Regions from separate parts of the Homo sapiens genome. Here region 2 is linked to region 1. The links are contacts of gene promoters, found by promoter capture Hi-C in blood cells and fetal thymus (Javierre and others, 2016). All regions are on one chromosome and are shown on one strand. Each heading gives the region's core, a stretch centred on a gene start or on the middle of the fragment in contact. The rest is flanking DNA. Distances are from core to core; before and after follow the strand shown. Region 1 holds the start of ETV1 (ETS variant transcription factor 1). Region 2 has its middle 590 kb from the start of ARL4A.

Region 1 (5,943 bases), core at 1,042-3,541:
ATTACAGAATGTTAAGTGAAAAAACTGAAATCCATCTACAGTCGAACAGTTTGCACCTTTAAAAGCAATGACTTGAAGCAGCAAGCAAAAGTTCCCAGTCCTTAAGACTTTCTCCCCACTCTCAATTCTTTCTTTCCTCTAGTGCAAAAGCTGTCTAAGCAGTGCACGCCGGAATTATCCCCACGTGAGCCTTCCTTTAATTTCGGTCTTAATTTTTTTCTCTCTTGTTATTACTCCCAGACCCCAACCTCTTTTTCCTCATCTAGTATCTGTTTCAGGGACAGGACAAAGAGGAGGCAGCGAGCTGAAAAAAGTTTTGTGGTTTGGGATACTTGGGCCTTTGTTGTGTCATTTCCTCTACCCCTCCACGCCCCCAACCACGTGACCAAGAAGGGCCGGAATTTTGTGAATGGAGACGAAAGGTGGCTGTTGGGGCGGGCGGGACTCCGCCCCCTTCCCTAAAGCGGCCAATCTCCTAGCGGAGCGCTGAGGGGTCAGCAATAAACAACAATGGGCTGGGGATTTACGGCTCGTTATTGGCTGCGGGAAGAACCTCGCCGGGACCTAACCCGAAGCTCCGCCCCCTCGCGGTTACCCTGGATACCCGTCAGGCTCGGGCTGCAGAGAAGGTCTTTGGAAACTGTTGCTCAGATTACAGGCGCTGGGTTATTCCAGGAGTGCAGGGTGGTGGAGGACCCTTGTTATTGACCCCCTGCTTGGTTGCACCCTCAGATAGTACCCATGAGCTTCACTGTTCAGCCTCGGGGCCCAGGCGCTTCCTGGAATCTCTCCTTGGCCGGGGTTAAAATGCAGTTCCCGCTCAAAATGCTTATAGGTGCGCGCGTTGTGAACTCCGATTTAGTAGTTTCCGGGAATGCGCGGGGTCTGTCTTTGCTGTCCATAGTTATTGGTTGTTTTCCCAGTAATAAGTGTTGATTGTTTGTTTGTTTGCTTCTTTTTTAAGTAGATCTTTCTCCTGCCCAGGTCCGGGGTTGAGTGCTGTGCGCTCTTACACTCCATTTTAATGTGTCTCCATAACGTTCTATTTAAGGAAGGAAACTTTCAAATAGAAATTGAGAACTGCAGCACGTTTCCTAACGGGCGGAACAGCTGCCGGAAACGTCTTTTGGTCACTAGTTCTGGTCACAAATGAATTTCAACAGCATTGAGTCCCTGGTCCTATCCCCGCGGCCTCCCGTCCGCTGTTGGACACTGGCTCCTTAAAGTGACGCTTTACTGTTCTGAGTCCCATAGGAGGATCAGGGCAAGTGGCTTCAGAGATGCAGCCCTCACTGCTTAACGTCCTAGTTATTGTCCTTGAAACCCGAGCCATCTCACCGCTCGCCCCCAACCCTGGGCTCTGGCTGTTTAAAAGCTGGAGAGGAAGTGAAAGCGTCAAGTACAGTAAGTGACACCCTCCGCCTCCGTGTATACATAACAAAAGCTCAGGAAACGTGCGGGTTCTAGGATATACGAGCAACCCCAAGCACTCCCTCCTCCTCCCCACAGCCACAGTGGACTGGAAGTACCTTTTCCCAGTGCACACGTAGGGACCATTTTGACTTATACTTTTTCACCTAGCTTGCTCTGTTGTCCTCCCATCACAACCTCTGCTAATCAGCAATTCTGCATCTCCTAGGTGCCTTCCTTATAGATTCTTTATGTTTCTGTCCCACGAACGATAGGATCTAATTTTAGTTGAGGATGACTGTTTAAAAAATGTTTCGATAAACCATAATGGTGATGGTGGGTTTTGAAAAACGGGAAAATAAATTGGGCCAAAAGCTGAGTGGGAATGAGGATAGAGAGCGAGGTGAGCTCCTAGTCAGGGCAAGAGTAGAGAGGTTGGAGATCCTGAGGGGAGGGCAGCTGAATAAGGCGGTACGGGCTTTGTGGATCGCGGCTCTAAGGGTATACCAGAACCGCACAACAGTACTTTAAGGAAACCAGCCCAATAGTGGACCTAACACCCCAATAATGGGAACTGGCGACTCGAAACACACGGTTTCAGTATCCCCAGGCGCCTTAACAATAAGCAGCGGGTTACAGAGGAAATCGAGTCTCTCCGTGGCGCTTCCAGGCTGAGGACCCAGCGCCTACCGGCCGAGCACCCCCTAGGGCAGAGGGGCGAGGGAGACCCGCGGGAAGGGGCAGCAAGCCGCCTGATTGACAGCCCGAAATCTGATCTTGTGAAAGAGACGCGGAGCCAATGGGAGGCAGCGATCCATCAGTTTGGATTGGAGGCCCCTGGAGGAGAAGTAGAGGAAAAACCACCGAATTGAGCTCTGTCAGAGGCGCTTTCGGCTTCCAAGGGGGAAGTGCTGGGCTATAATTAATGTTTTTATTAAATTTGGAGGGAAGTTTTTGCAGCCTTTCGCCTAGCGTGGCCTTCAGGTGGGTCTTTCCAACAACTTTTTATGTCTCTCCAGATAATTGCATGGTTGTGGGTCGCAAAAACTATCCTGATGAAAGAGGTGTCTCCGTCTCTTTAGTCCCGTTAGGTGCAAAGCAAGTCTCGTTGATCGCCATTGCTAGTTTTGCACACGTTTGCGAATCAGAGCTGCCCGGGGTACACCGACCGCGCAGGGAAACATCGAGAGTGTAAATAAATACATCGCCTCTTGTTCGGATTTTTGCTACTACCGAAAATATGTAAATTGTGAACTCTGTTGGCTCTCTTTGGATCCAGGTGAAGGAGGCGGTGTAGGGAGGGTTATTTTTGTGAATGGGACTGTCGGAGGGTAATTAGCTATGCAAATTCAAGAGCTTCATTCATGATTTTTTTTTAAGCCTAAAAGCCATCTTGTTCCCCTCTAGGTTGATAGAAGTCCAGATCCTGAGGAAATCTCCAGCTAAATGCTCAAAATATAAAATACTGAGCTGAGATTTGCGAAGAGCAGCAGCATGGATGGATTTTATGACCAGCAAGTGCCTTACATGGTCACCAATGTGAGTGATCAGTTTGAAAGTTGCTGTTTATAAACTTGACTCCGTCGGGGGTGGGGAGAGGGAGAAAATGAGAAGGGAGGGGGCACGGGGGTTGGGATTGCAGATACTTATCTGCTTTGTTGCCACTGTAGGGCGACTCTGCTTCTAGAAGCCCAGTCTTCAAAATGAGCTTACCTTTCAGTGATTTGGATAAGGCATAGTTTTGTTTTTAAGACCCCTTTTTCTGATTAAAGTGCCCAACATGAGTGGAAGAGGAGATGGAGGGCAGCAGCAGCTGCTGCACTCAAAGTTTTTGGCTGGGTTTGTCTGCCACATTGAAAAGAATGAAGTTGAGACAAATGCTGACACTTTTTGTTTATATGGGGTGTTTTTGTTTCTTTTTTTTTTCTCATTTTCTCTTTTTTTTTTTTTTCATTTCTCTACTCTTTTTGCTTTTTTTTTTTGTGGGGGTGGGGTGGGGAGGAGGGGCTGTCCAAGAGAGAATAAAACCCACTGTTTTAATCTAGCATTGAACCAGCCTAAAAACAACTTTAAGTGTAAATGCTTCAGGTTGTTTTGATGCTGAGATACCATGAATATATGATTGATAAATAGTAATGTGCTAAGATCGGCACTGGGAAGCAACTCTCCCTGCCTGCTTAACATAAGCTTTCACTGTCAAATAAGTGAGAAAATGAATATTAGAGTTGATACTATGGACTTCTATTTTTCTATTCAGAGAAGATCCATTAGACTTATGTATGCATGTCTGTGTGTGTGTGTGTGCGCGCGCGTGTGCGTGTGTGTGATCTGAGGTTTACATTCTTTTAAAGGATTTTATCTTTCCCTTTGTAGAGTCAGCGTGGGAGAAATTGTAACGAGAAACCAACAAATGTCAGGAAAAGAAAATTCATTAACAGAGATCTGGCTCATGATTCAGAAGGTGAGGTTTGATTTTGGGCTGAATCCCCATTTTTTTACCTACACTCTCCACCCTGCTAAAAGAAAAGGAGCACTTCAGTCTTATCTTAAAAATAATAAACTTTGAAATTACTGAATCTAACTAAGACTTTAACTTGGAACGATTTACATAATGCGGCAGTTTGCATGGGAGACTATTTTATGGTCCTATCACAAAGTAATGAAAGAAGGAAATAAAAACTTCTCAATGACAACCTTCTTTTAATCATTGTTTTGTGTTTAAATACCTTTGTCCATGGGGCATATAACTCACCCCATTCACTAAGATAACAATTTAAAAATATCCAATACAGTGGGACAAATTCAGCAGCTATGTACACTGCTTACTTTTTTCTTTCTCCTTTATTACAAGTTAAACAGTATTAGTGATTGTTTGGTTTCCCACCTCCTTTACACTAAAACCATCTACTATTAACAGAATTTTCAAGGGTGATTTTGATGACTAAATTGTGAGGTCATAATACCTTGTTTATCGACCATAATGTGTTCACTGAATCATACTTAAGGCCTCCTTAATAATTATAATACTATTTGGGAAATTAGTTTGCAGATTCTTTTTATGAACTGTTGCTAGGATGTCAGTATGTTACAAATTATTTTAGCCATATGAGGACATTCATAATAAACTTAATATACTTAGATTTAATTATCAAAGTTTAGTTGGCAATTTTAATTAGATATACTGAATTCTGAAACTTCCTCAAATCTTCATACCATTTAAATACCTCCCTCTCTCCCTCCCTAACATGACCATATAGTTTAGAACTTGATGAGAACCTGGTGCCAAAGAATTATCTTTCTGACTTTTATAAACCTATTAATGTAGAAATTTTCCTCTAAAAACTTGTATTTGAAGTGGTTTCTTTTAGTTTCGAGGTATTGAAGTTGAAAACATAATACTTTGACAGTTGTACCATGTACCATTATATATTTTATGTAAGATTCAGAAGATATAAATAAAATGCTTTTCAGTCTTTCTAATCTTCCCCCTACTACTATTTTAGCAAGAGTTAAATATATTTAAGGAAGATTTCAGTGAACAGACACATATTCACCTCAGCCTTTTTGTGAATTCTGGTATCCCTGAGCTTATTTATTAAGCTGTTTGTTAAAAAGAAGAAAAGATGATTGACTTTATTCTTTAGTTGACTAAAATAATTTCTTAAAGAGTTGCTTAATAGGCATGAAAAGTAGGCAGTATTATTGAGATATTTAAGTTATGCCTCTTTTTTTTATTTTTATGTTGACTGCGTCTCTTGAAATTAAATTTATATTTAATACCAATTTCATGACAAATATTTCCATTTAATGAAGATTAAAGATTTGCAAATCTTATGTTTATGTCTTTGACTTGTTTTTTAGAACTCTTTCAAGATCTAAGTCAATTACAGGAAACATGGCTTGCAGAAGGTAAGGCAAAATTTGCTTTAAAAGGGGGGAAAGCAACTCTAGAAGGAGAAAGAAAAGAAGTCCTGAACTTGCTGTCTTAATATTCAGCCCAATTAATTGAGCTCTAAAAGAGCCACCTCATGTGTCATGCATACATTAGAGCCTCTGATGAGTTTGTCTTTGGGGACTCTGGGGCTGTACTACCCAGTGTCATCACAAATTACCAGGAGAAATTGCTTCCAGCTCACAATCACATCTGCTTTTGGCAAGAACTAATGCACCAAGACTTCAAGTTCTAAGCCTCTGTTCAGATTTTAATTGCAATTGATCAGGTTTATATTATTGTACCTCCAGAGACCTCCTAGAGCCAGAACCCGGCTGGCTTGCTGTTTCCTTTAGAGCAGCGCATATCATTATTTGGTGTTCTGGTGGAGGACTTTTCTGATGGCAGAAATTAGTTTCTCTGGGTTCATCAGGACGGGATGCTTCAAGATTTAAGTGCAAGTGTCTTCTTTCCACCTTGTTCACAACACAGAACGTTAGGTGTGTATCTAATGCTTAGGAAATCTATGGGTTTAAAATAAATGGGAGATATGAGGATTTTAAAAATGTTTTCCATGTGTTACTATTCATGTTATGTTTGCT
Region 2 (6,460 bases), core at 727-3,226, 710 kb after region 1:
ATAGATCACTGATGTCAAAGTCCAGAATAATTTGCTTAAAAGCTGGAAATTAAGAAATGTGAAGCCATTATTTCAAGTTTGCTAGATCAAAAAAATTTTCATGATAGTGTTAACCCAGGTGCCATTTGAAACAGTTTGGCTAACGATCTTCTTAAGAGTTAAAAACGAAACAAAGTGACTTCATTGGAGTTTAATCCTATCCTTTGATTGCTGGATGCTATATTAATTTTTTCACCAGTTCAGCTGTTCCAATGTAACAAATTGGCTTTATCTTCATTGGTCAGCTTCTTCCTGTAATTCAGACAACTTAATGGATTTTAGTTCTAAATAGAGTATGGTTTGTTTCTGAGTATTAATTTCAACTTTAGTTATTGTGCAAATTATGCCCTAACTTAAAATTGAACCACATTGACCACTAAAACAGAAAAGTCTAATATATGACCCAAATTAACAAATTTTGCCCAGACAGCAAAGTTAAGTTGGCTTGATTTCCTCATTCTCATATACTATTTCACAAAGCATGTTCTCCATCTAGTGGCTGGAAAGCTCAGAGGACAAGCTTATCTCATTATTACTAATTCACTATATATTTATATATCTTTATAAGAATAAACAAATCACATATATATGACAATTGAGTTTTTATTCTTGCCTTCTACACTATTATAGGGGACAGGACAAGGATTCGGTTTTATTAACTTTACATTAACTGAGACCTTCAACATGACAAGACAAACAATTTTTTAATTGCTTGAAATAAGACTGAGAAAGAATACAGTAAGTAGATTTCTGCAGAGTATAAAATAACATAAATGTCATGTATAATTGTTAGTAAGTGCTTGTTTTTATTATGGAACCAAATCAGGTAACAGAATCCTGGATTATAAAAGGTATCTCTTGGAATCTATGTTCTTGGCTATATTTCTAATCAATTATTTGTTTATTGGGTCTGGTACTTTCTACTGGATCCACATTATGAGCAAGAACAGCTCATTTTTCCTTTCTCTACAGTTACTAATGAAATGTTCCTTTCCATTTCATCACACTACTTCAGCTCTCATTTTCTGCTAGTTGTCATGTTCTTGGAGTAGTTCTTATCCCAGAAAAAGAAAAAAAAACTTTAATCAGTAAAAATACTAAATACTATCAAAGATCATAAGAGGATATTTTATACATATATGCATGTCTATTTTTTTAACTGGAAATTTCAAAGGTTTTCCTTGACCTTGGTGAGTGCTGCTTTGGTAAAACGAATGCCTTGGGGAACTAAGTCAACTCCGAAAGAGCTGAAAATCTTCCCTCACAACACCAGAGAGGAATATTTTAGAATCAGAAGTATGTTAGGATTCATGTTCTTGTATTTGCCCATTTTACAGATGACATAGATGGAGCTAGCCCAGAGTAGTAAAAGGATGAAGTTGAGGTAAAGTAGGCTTCAGAATAAGATGTGTTCAAATACTCCATCTGCCACTGGCCAGCTCTGTTATCCCAGGCCAGTGACTTAAACCTGCAGAGCCATGGTTTCTGTTCCATAAAATGTGAGTACTATTACCTGAAGTGTAGGGTCATTATTAAGATGAAGCAAGACACAGACAGACAGACAGACAGACAGACAGACAGATGATTGATAGACAGATGATAGATAAATCGATAGCTATTATAAACACTTGGGACATGTAGCTGGCAATCTATCATCTATCTATCTATCTCAAGAGTTTATTATAGTGCCTGGTACATAACAGAATTTTTTAAAACGTAAGGTTAATTACATAGTAAGTTAAAATGAAAGACCTAGGTCTTGAACCTGTCTTAAGCCCAGATTTTCCATCATGCCACATGGTTATACATTGATCTTTTAAAGACTTAATGATAAAATGGTATTCATGAAGCTGAGTGAAGAAAGTGCTTTATAGCAATTGCTGACTTAATAAACTGATGTCTCTAAAAGTTAAATGATGAGAAAATTAAATATAGCTTCAGCAATTAAATAATTTTTTTTCCACATAGCCTAAAATCTGGCAATTAAAAAAATAATTGTTATATTTATAACTATAAAACTATAATTATACTTCTGTAGATATGTAGTATAGCTTATATATTTCTAGAGTATGTGAAAAATGCATCAGAACACCTCTCTCTCCCTCTTTCTCTCAATACCTCATTAGATAAGTTTCCATGTTAAATAAGTAGTTTCCTCAAGAAAAAATGTAAAAATGATATTTAATAATTAGCAGACATATAGAACAGTGAGAAGGACTATTAAAGAAACACATGGATTTTTTTTTTTCTATTTTAACCAGGTTTTGCTCGCTATACTACTCAATGTCATCAGGTAATGAGCACTCCCACACTTCTTTTAGGTAAATGACAAACTGGAAGCACAATCCAATGCATGTATTCATTTTACTAACATAAGTATATCTAATAATAATTAACACTAATGAAATGGATTCAAATATTTCAGTAAAAAATTACAGACATCTCACAGAGCTATCGCAAAATACAAATGTTTCCCAACAGATTTCTTCTCACTTTGACAAATCTTTGTTCTTCATATCTTTGTCTTCAAAGTCAATAAACATCTTTCTAATTGAAAGGGCTTTTTTTTTTTTTTTTTTTTTTTTTTTGGAAATCAAGGCCTATAATATGTAAGTATGGACATACACATGAAAAAAATGTAAAAAAAAAGACAACTTATTAAAAGATTCATCAAGGAATTTTATATTTTTTCTGTGAATTAGAAAAATATACAGTTCTTGAAAAATGACGCATGAGGACTCACATGTACACTACCTTAGTGCTTAACATTTGCCTAATTTCTGTCTCATTTTCTAAGTTCACTATTAAAACTGAATGAGGGTTCTAACATTCTAAAATAAACTAATATTGTACTTCTCCTTAAATATTTAGAGCTCTTTTTGTAAAATTACTTTTTTAACAACTATAATACATTAAAGCTCTGAGTATAAAATTTCACTAAGGCCATATCAAAAATTTCAGGGACCTGTTGCTAATAATTTATAAACTTATAAAAGCCAATCTCGCCATCTAGTGGTTATAGATGAGAAATATGAATTAAAAGATTGAAAGTAACCGTTTCTATTTTAAGACATTTCAAATTAGCCAAACATATTTACTTGTGCAGTTTTTTAAAAGGTACAAAAACAATTCAGTAGAGAAAAGATAATCTTATCAACAAATGATGTTGGATAGATTATATTCCATTGGCAAACAAAAAGAATATTAGCCTATACCTCACAAATTAAACAACAACAAAAAAGCCCCTGAAAAAAATAGATTAAAACACAAACACTAAAAGTTGTAGGAAAAAATGGGACATAATTTTAGAGATTTAGGGATAAGCAAAAATTCTTAGATGACACCAAAAGCTTGATCCATAAAAGGAAAAACTGAAACGTTAAACCTTGTAATTAGAAACCTTTGCTCTGTGAAAGACAGAGGATGTTTCATTCGTTAAGAGGATGAAAAAAAAGCTACCTACAGACTGAGAGAAAATAGTTTCAAAACACATACTGGAGAAAGGAGTAGCATTTAAAAAATATGAAAACTCAAGTAAAAAAACAAATAATTTAATAGAAAATGAGCAAAAGATATGAACAGCCACTTCACTGATGAGAATATGGAAATGGAAAATAAGTACATAGGAAGATATTCAATATTATTTTCCATTAAGGAAATACAGATTAAAACCACAATAAGATAGCATATGCTTTTATTAGAATGGTTAAAATAAAAAAAGTAGTGACAACACAAATCTTAGTGAGGATGTAGAGAAACTAGATCACTCATACATTGCTGGTGGGAATGTAAAATGGTACAGCCATTTTGGAAAACAGTTTGGCAATTGCTTATAAATCTAAATATGTAAACATAAAAGTCAGCATTTGCACTCTTGGATATTTATTCCACAATAATATAAATGCATGTTCATGTAAAAACCTGTATATAAATTTATTCATGATATCCCCAAATGGAAACATCTCAACAGAGGAATGGTTATACAAACTATGATACATCCATACCATGAAACACAAAGAAATGAAAAAATGAACTATTTACACATGTAACAACTTGGATACATCCTCAGAGAAATGCACTCAGTGAAAAGAAGCTGATCTGAAAGATTATAAGCTGTAGGCTTCTATTTAAATAATATTTTGGGAAGCCAAATTTATAGACTAGGATAAGTGACAGATTAGTGGTGGTCAGCACTTGGGGGTGGTGGGGGTGTTGCGGAAAGAACATGGGTGTGGCTATGAAAGGGCAACCTAAGGGATCCTTGTGGTGATGGAACTGTTCTGTACCTTGACTATGGTGAATGCACTAACCTACACATGTGATAAAACGGCATGAAATGTAATACGAGCGAACTCCAAAAAGCTCATTGAAAAAATTAAAAAACTAAAACATAAAATATAAACTTTATTTCTCAATGTAAGTTCTATCAAGTTCAAGACACTTTTGAAAGTGATGACACCAGCCATTTAGTCGATCCCTATAAAGAGCTGAGGGTCCTGGGAATTTAACCATGTCAATGCGCTCTTTTTTGCATTATTAACTGAAGAGAAATGGGTGACCTTTAAATATTTTTTAAGATTACAAACAAACACAAGTCAGACAGAGCCAAATCAGGACTGTGAGATGAATATCTAATGCTTTTCTATGAAAACTCTCACAAAATTTCATCATAGGACTGAGCAGGAGCACCGCTATGGTGAAGAAAGACTCTCTGGTGAAGCTTTCCTGGGTGTTTTTCCACTAAAGCTTTGGCTAATGTTCTCAGAACACTAACAAGGAGATGTTATCCTTCACTGGCCGCCCAGAAAGTCAACAAGCAAAATGCCTGGAGCATCCCAAAAGGCCATTTCCGTGACTTTTGCTCTTGACTGGTCTGCTTTTGCTCTGACCTCTGAGTCAAATCTTGTGCTTTGTCTTCAGAACAGTATTGGTAAGGCCATATTTTATCTCCTGTTACAACACTACAAAGACATGTTTTAGAATCTTGATTCTACTTGATTAAAATTTCAGTTGAAAACTCTGCTTGTCTGCAGCTCATCTGGACACAACAGCTTTTGCACTTACGAAGTGGAAAGTTTGCTCAACTTTAATTTTTCAATCATAATTGTGTAAAGTGAACCAGTTGAGATGTCTATGGTGGTGGCTATTGTTTGTGCTGTGGTCAGGCTCCTTCCATTAGAGTACAAACAAGATGAATTTTTTCCTCACAAATTGATGCGGATGATCTGCCTCTATGAACTTTATCTTCAACATTATATTGTCATTTTAAAAAATGAATTTGTAAACTACTGATTTCTTTGAGGCATTGTTCCCATAAACTTTTTGTAAAGTATCAATGATTTCACCATTCTTCTACCCAAGACTCACCATAAATTTAATGTTTGTTTTTGCTCCAATATTAACAAATCCATGTTGCTGTGACAGGGACTCTTTTCAAACTGACGTGTTATCCTACGTAATGCCTTAAACTAGATCCTGCTCAGAAATGTGATAATAAGTTACTACAAGTTTATTTTGGTGCAAATCCATTCATAGTTTTTTTCATAATACACATTTTCCATGAACTTTTTGAAGACCACTTGTATAACCTCCACTCCTACACACACACACTCATGTACGAGTAAAACTGGGAAAGCCTGAGTAAGAACAGTGGATTATACCAATGTTAGCCTCCTGATTGTGATACTGTACTATAATTTTGCAAGATACCAAAGACAGCAAGATACCATGTTAACATTGGGGAAGCAGTATAAGAAATGCACAAGATATTTCTGTGTTATTTCTTCCAATTGCATGTGAATCAGCAATTATCTCAAAATAAAATATTTAATTTTTAAGAAAAGTGATTCTGCCACCTGGTGGCTGCAGACTAGAAATAAGATTAAAGGGTTAAAAGAACATGAGTTAATTCCTATTCTGGGACAATTAAAACAATCTAACATATTTACTTGTACATACATTTATAAACAACATCTTGAGAATCCTCATAGACCACCTGGGAAAATTTTGAAGAAAATTTAGATAGAGGTTATCAGGTTAATATACACATGAATGACCTACCCCCACCAGCTGCTAGGCATATTCATAAAGTTTATTGAAACCTGTAAGGCCTGCAGAACCATAAATGTCACCAAAGAACACATTAACAGCTACTATTTCCAAAGATGCCTAGCTAACCTACAGAAATTGTATAGGTAATAGGTAAGTAATAATCAATATGCCAGTGCTTTATATTAAAAGAGTAACTGTTTTACAGATACATTTTCGTACATATTGTTTAATTTTTAAAAAATTCCAGGGAAATATATGAGATGTCAGTCATGTGTAATTGTTCAAGCAACAACTGAGGTCAAATCATTTTTTTAAATTTTCCTTTGGGAGGGAACATCATCTTTGGTGATAAAAGAAAATCATCTGTTAA

Evidence for each region. The method cuts DNA at HindIII sites, captures the fragments that hold promoters and counts their contacts. A CHiCAGO score of 5 or more calls a contact.
Region 2: a fragment that was not itself captured here is called in contact with the fragment with the promoter of ETV1 in region 1 in 1 of 17 cell types (megakaryocytes); the score reaches 5.3 in megakaryocytes.

Annotation. Positions count from the first base shown.
Region 1 is chr7:13,986,014-13,991,956 of GRCh38, reverse strand. ETV1 (ETS variant transcription factor 1) reads left to right here and starts at 2,291. Exons shown (of 14, transcript NM_004956.5): 1 at 2,291-2,394; 2 at 2,493-2,689; 3 at 2,818-2,949; 4 at 3,784-3,871; 5 at 5,272-5,319. The coding sequence starts at 2,905. RefSeq lists an enhancer at 270-771. The HindIII fragment of the contact is 3,649 bases long and covers 1-3,599 here.
Region 2 is chr7:13,276,632-13,283,091 of GRCh38, reverse strand. No RefSeq gene overlaps it. Among named protein-coding and RNA genes, the nearest start is that of ARL4A, 590 kb to the right of the region's middle. The HindIII fragment of the contact is 2,830 bases long and covers 562-3,391 here.